Regions from separate parts of the Homo sapiens genome. Here region 2 is linked to region 1. The links are contacts of gene promoters, found by promoter capture Hi-C in human tissues and cell types (Jung and others, 2019). All regions are on one chromosome and are shown on one strand. The core of a region is centred on a gene start or on the middle of the fragment in contact, and the rest is flanking DNA. Distances in the headings are between cores, read along the strand shown. Region 1 holds the start of NOL11 (nucleolar protein 11). Region 2 has its middle 35 kb from the start of SNORA38B.

Region 1 (2,700 bases), core at 1-2,500:
CTCAAGTGATCCACCCACCTGGGCCTCCCGAAGTTCTGGGATTACAGGCGTGAACCACCGCGTCCGGCCAAACCTCTAAAAGGGTAGTTAAAATGAAAATATAACTAAGTTCCTAAATAAGTAAATAAGCAACCCTTTGTTAAAAAAACAATAGTACATTTAAAAATTGATTATATTATGCCTCTGCATGGGAAGTTATGCCTCTGAACAGCGGCATGGGAAATTAAGTAGGGACATCTGGGATCATGTCTATCCAATTCCAATCTGCCATTGTATTCCTATGCAGGAGCTGCAAAACTGCAAATCTACTTGACATCCCAAGTGAAACCCAATAGAGTTAGCAGAGTCAAAACGGCACAGGGAGCTGTTAGCAACCTGTTCTCAAAACGTCAAAGCAGATACCTAACTTCTTTAAAACATGGAAAACTATGTTCAGCAGCCCAGAGAAAAGTAACTGCTTTCTATGCGACCACCAAAAGCAAGGTTAGAAAGTGTTCTCTATCAGGCTTTAGGCTGAAATGGGGGCAGGGCTTGCAGATTTTCCCAGGACTCAACTCCAGGATTCCCAGCGTGAATCAGAGATGCCAACAGACAACTCACTTGGAGGCAAGATTCTTAGCGAGCTATCAAGAAAGTCCCTCACTCTCTAAAATTGTCCCCGCCCCTACAAAGAGAGGGGTGTGAAGTGTAGACACGGCTAAACCACTATTCCCACTCTGTCAGTGTCATCCTCTCCCGCCCAACCAATCTCCGTTCCATCCTCCCGCGGGCGGCTAAGATAATAAAGACCCTAGGAGGGAATCTTAGCAAGGCCAATTCCGCGAGTTCCGAAGCAAAAGCACAGGTTTTCTTTCTTTTCCGAGTCTAACCCACGTGCACTCAGACGCTCTGCCCCTGCAAGTCGGAAATATGCCTTTACAGGAAGGCAAGCAAGCCAGATTCCAGACCTCACTCAGCGTCCCCAACAGGCCCAGCCGGCTCTCTGCTAAGCCTTCTCCACGATCTCTTTCTGAAGCTGTGAGAAACTTGAGCTCGAGCTCCGCGCTCAGAAAGGGGCGAGAAGGCAGTCGGGGCGCTCCCAAACCTATTGCCTTCACCTTATAGAGGATGACTGTCCTGCCGCTGTCTGTCACTAGAAACTGGTCTGTTTTGTCGCTCTGCTCCACGCCTAGGAGTCCTTCAGGCCCGGCGCTCAGGACTACCGAAGACAACGTGAATTCTTCCTCCAGCGCTGCCATTTTGAGCAAACCTAAGTACGGCCGCGCTCACTCCCGGCAGGCCTCGCGCTTTCTCTCGCGAGAATGAACGGGCCTGAGGGGGCGAGTGCTTGCCAAACCAGGAACCTGCTCTCGCAGCCTGCGACCTCTGGCGGGCGGAAGGAGCGAGCGCGACTGTGAATTTAGCCAGGTGGGCTGGGCCGGCTTGCGTCAGACTCCGCCTCCCGAGACCACGCCTCGCCGAGTCCCGGATGTGCTCCAGGAAGGGATAGGGTAGGCGCGGAAGTGCTGCTTACTGGGTCCTGAATCGGCTGCGTGCTGTTCTAGGTGGGGACTTGAGAGACTGTAGATGGGTCTAGGGAGTGGTCGAATATAAATAAGCTAGATTTTTTTTTTTTTAATTGCAAGGGAACTCCCTAGGAATTCCATCCATGGCCTTGTGGAACGATCTGCCAAAGAAAAAATATTTATCTCTGTAGGTAAACTCCCAATAACGTGCTGTTCCTACGTGAAATGCTTAATTCCCCCCAAGTTTCTTGGAACCCTCTAGAGATCTCCAGTCTTTTCAGTCTTTCAGGCCTTCTGAGTTCTCTGACTCCCCTTCTCTGAGCCCCAGTGGGGAAAATCTCTCCTCAGCTTACAGGAAATTCAGACTAGTTTGATGAAGGTGAAGTTGAAGGTCCCCTGTGTGATTTTTGGCAAGGTTTTTATTTCCGGGAGAAATGTATGTTTCTCAGATAAGCATGGCAGATTCAATCAATAATGTTAAATAAATAAGTAAAGATAAATTGTGATGTTCTTAGGGAGAAACCATTTAATAGGCAATTACTAAACAAATGTACCCAGTGTGACAAAGTGCCTCAGTTTAGATTTAAGCATCCACCAGATCGCCATGTGTGTTGTTTCTCATTGCCCCAACATGACGACATGGGCAAAAGGAGAATATCCAGCTACTGTGAAGGAATCAAATGCAGTCTATTTTTATAATGCTAATAGGTCTTTTGTTGTTCAAAAGTAGTGGCATTATCATGGCTCACTGCAGCCTCTAACTCTTGGGCTAAATAAAGCAATCCTCCTGCTTCAGCCTCCCGAATAACTGGGACTACAGGCATCCATCACCACGCCCGGCTAATTTTTGTATTTTTTGCAGACATGGAGTCTTGCTTTGTTGCCCAAGGTGATCTTGAACTCTGATAATCTTTTAATTTTTAGGCTGGGTTGTGAGATCAAGAGGATATAGTTTATTATTATGCTTCATAACTTACTTTGTGATAGGTGGTAAGAAGAAAAACATTAAACTCAGAAGGGAGAGATAAAGCGTGGGTGTGTGGGGGAGGAAGGAGTGGTCTGTGTATGTGAAATTTTCACTAGGATGACCACAGGCCTCCTTGAGAGGATGTCTTTTTTTTTTTTTTTTTTTTTTTGAGACAGGGTCTTGCTCTGTCGCCCAGGCTGGAGTGACGCAGTCTCAACTCACTGCAAT
Region 2 (2,724 bases), core at 136-2,635, 58 kb before region 1:
ACAACAAATAAAAACAACTGGAGATGACCTGAGAGAAGCTTGTGCCGGCCACTCATGCCACTGTGGCCTTCGAAAACCCAGCTGTTTCCCGTGTCATACCCTCCAGGAATACTAGCCAGCGGGCTGTGCTGAAGTTTGCTGCTGCCACTGAAGCCGCTCTCACTGCTGGCCACTTCACTCTTGGAACCTTCACTAACCAGATCCAGACAGCCTTCTGGGAGCCACGTCTTCTTTTTTTTTTTTTTTTGAGATGGAGTCTCGCTCGGTTGCCCAGGCTGGAGTGCAGGGGCGCGATCTCGGCTCACTGCAAGCTCCACCTCCCGGGTTCACGCCATTCTCCTGCCTCAGCCTCCCGAGTAGGTGGGACTACAGGCACCCGCCACCACACCTGGCTAATTTTTTGTATTTTTAGTAGAGACGGGGTTTCACCATGTTAGCCAGGTTGGTCTCGATCTCCTGACCTCGTGATCCACCCATCTCGGCCTCCCAAAGTGCTGGGATTACAGGCGTGAGCCACCGCGCCCGGCCTGGGAGCCACGTCTTCTGATGGTTACTGATCCTGGGGCTGACCACCAGCCTGTCACAGAAGTGTTTCATGGTAACCGGCCTACCATGGCTCTTGGTCACAAAGATTCTCCTTGACACTGCGTGGACACTGCCATCCCAAGCAACGAGAAAGGAGCTCCTGAGTGGGTCTGCTGTGGTGGGTGCTGGCAGGGAAGTTCTGTACATGTGTAACACCATCTCCTGTGATCACCATAGGATCTCATGCCTGAGCTCTACTTCTGCAGAGATTCTAAAGATATTATAGGCTGGGCACAGTGGCTCACGCCTGTAATCCCAACACTTTGGGAGGTCAAGGCGGGTGGATCACTTGAGGTCAGGAGTTCGAGACTAGCCTGGCTAACATGGCAAAACCCCATCTCTACCAAAAATACAAAAATTAGCCAGGTGTGGTGGCATGCACTTGTAGTCCCAGCTACTAGGGAGGCTGAGGTGGGAGAATCCCTTGAAAACAGGAGGCAGAGGTTGCAGTGAGCCGAGATGGTGACGCTACCCTCCAGCCTGGGTGACAGAGCAAGACTTGGTCTTCAAAAAAAAAAAAGATATTTTAAACCAAAAATAAAATTCTAAGGCCTCCCAACCATCTGAATGGACCCGTCCTCTTGGCCATGGGCATTCCAGAGTTACCTGAAAATCCAGTTCAGGTCATGATGGAAGAGGGGGGTTGGACATGGCTCCTTATACCCTTCCAGCATTAACACCAACACAGACCTTAAGTCTCATAAGAAATATCTGTATTCTGTCTAAAGCCTGCTACTTGGAGGCTTCATCTGTATGAAATAACCTAGGTGTCCAGGGGTCCACAACCTCTTATTCTAACCCAGACATTCCTTTCTACTGATAATAACTTTCAACCAATTGCCAATCAGAACATTTTTAAGTCTACTTATTACCTGAAAGCACCCCTCACCCTTTGAGTTGTCCCACCCTTTGCGTTGTCCTACCCTTCCAGATCAAACCAGTGTAAATCTTACATGTATTGATTGATGTCTCATGTCTCCCTAAAATTTATAAAAGCAAGCTGTACCCCGACCACCTACATGTCATCAGGACCTCCTGAGGCTATGTCACAGCATGTTCTTAACTTTGGCAAAATAAACTTTCTAGGCCAGGCACGGTGGCTCACGCCTGTAATGCTAGCGCTTTGGGAGGCCGAGGTGGGCAGATCACCTGAGGTCAGGAGTTCAAGACCAGCCTGGCCAAAATGGTGAAACTCTGTCTCTACTAAAAATACAAAAATTAGCCAGGCGTTTTGGTGGGCGCCTGTAATCCCAGCTACTCAGGAGGCTGAGGCAGGAGAATTGCTGGAAACCTGGAGGCAGAGTCTACAGTGAGACAAGATTGCACCACTGCACTCCAGCCTGAGCAACAGAGTGAGACTGTCTCAAAAAAAAAAAAAAAAACAAAAACAAACAAACTTTCTAAGTTGACTGAGACCTGTCTCAGATATTTTGGGTTGACAATACTGAAAAAGAACAGGTCACTGCTGAAAGGCAGTGACCAAGAAGGACCTTAAGAGCAAATGAACTGCCATCCGAGGTTGCAGACTTGTCTGAAGGTGTGCAGGTGCTCTCTGTCCCTGTTAAGTAGGTCCCTACTGAAGAACACAGCACTCAGACTGCCACTGAAGATGGGTCTAGACCAGGTGCAGCGGCTCATGCCTGTAATCCTACTATTTTGGGAGGTCGAGGTGAACAGGTCGCTTGAACCCAGGAGTTCAAAACCAGCCTGAGCAACCTGGCAAAACCCCATCTCTACAAAAAACACAAAAATTAGCCGGGTGTGGTGGTGCCAGCCTGTGGTCCCAGCTACTTGGGGGGCTGAGGTGGGAGGATCACTTGCGCCCAGGAGGTCAAGGCTGCAGTGAGGCATAATTTCACTACTGCACTCCAGCCTGGGTGACAGAGCGAGACCCTGTCTCAAAAAAAAGAAGAAAAAAAAAGACCAAAATGGTGAAACCCCATCTCTACTAAAAATACAAAAATTAGGCCAGGCGCGGTGGCTCACGCCTGTAATCCCAGCACTTTGGGAGGCAGAGGCGGGCGGATCACGAGGTCAGGAGATCGAGACCATCCTGGCTAACACAGTGAAACGCTGTCTCTACTAAAAATACAAAAAATTAGCCGGGCGTGGTGGCGGGAGCCTGTAGGTAGTCCCAGC

The links. Contacts are between HindIII fragments. The study calls those that stand out against the background at their distance.
Region 2: a fragment that was not itself captured here is called in contact with the fragment with the promoter of NOL11 in region 1 in 1 of the 25 tissues and cell types used here (lymphoblastoid cells).

The regions. Positions count from the first base shown.
Region 1 is chr17:67,716,486-67,719,185 of GRCh38, reverse strand. It overlaps NOL11 (nucleolar protein 11), which reads right to left and starts at 1,250. Exons shown (of 18, transcript NM_015462.5): 1 at 1,098-1,250. The coding sequence starts at 1,238. It overlaps LOC101928045 (a long non-coding RNA gene), which reads left to right and starts at 1,508. Exons shown (of 4, transcript NR_188294.1): 1 at 1,508-1,544. RefSeq lists enhancers at 1-77, 1,000-1,189, 1,260-1,339 and a silencer at 640-729. The HindIII fragment of the contact is 26,229 bases long and covers 1-2,700 here.
Region 2 is chr17:67,774,141-67,776,864 of GRCh38, reverse strand. It overlaps the pseudogene RPSAP67. Among named protein-coding and RNA genes, the nearest start is that of SNORA38B, 35 kb to the right of the region's middle. The HindIII fragment of the contact is 7,192 bases long and covers 1-2,724 here.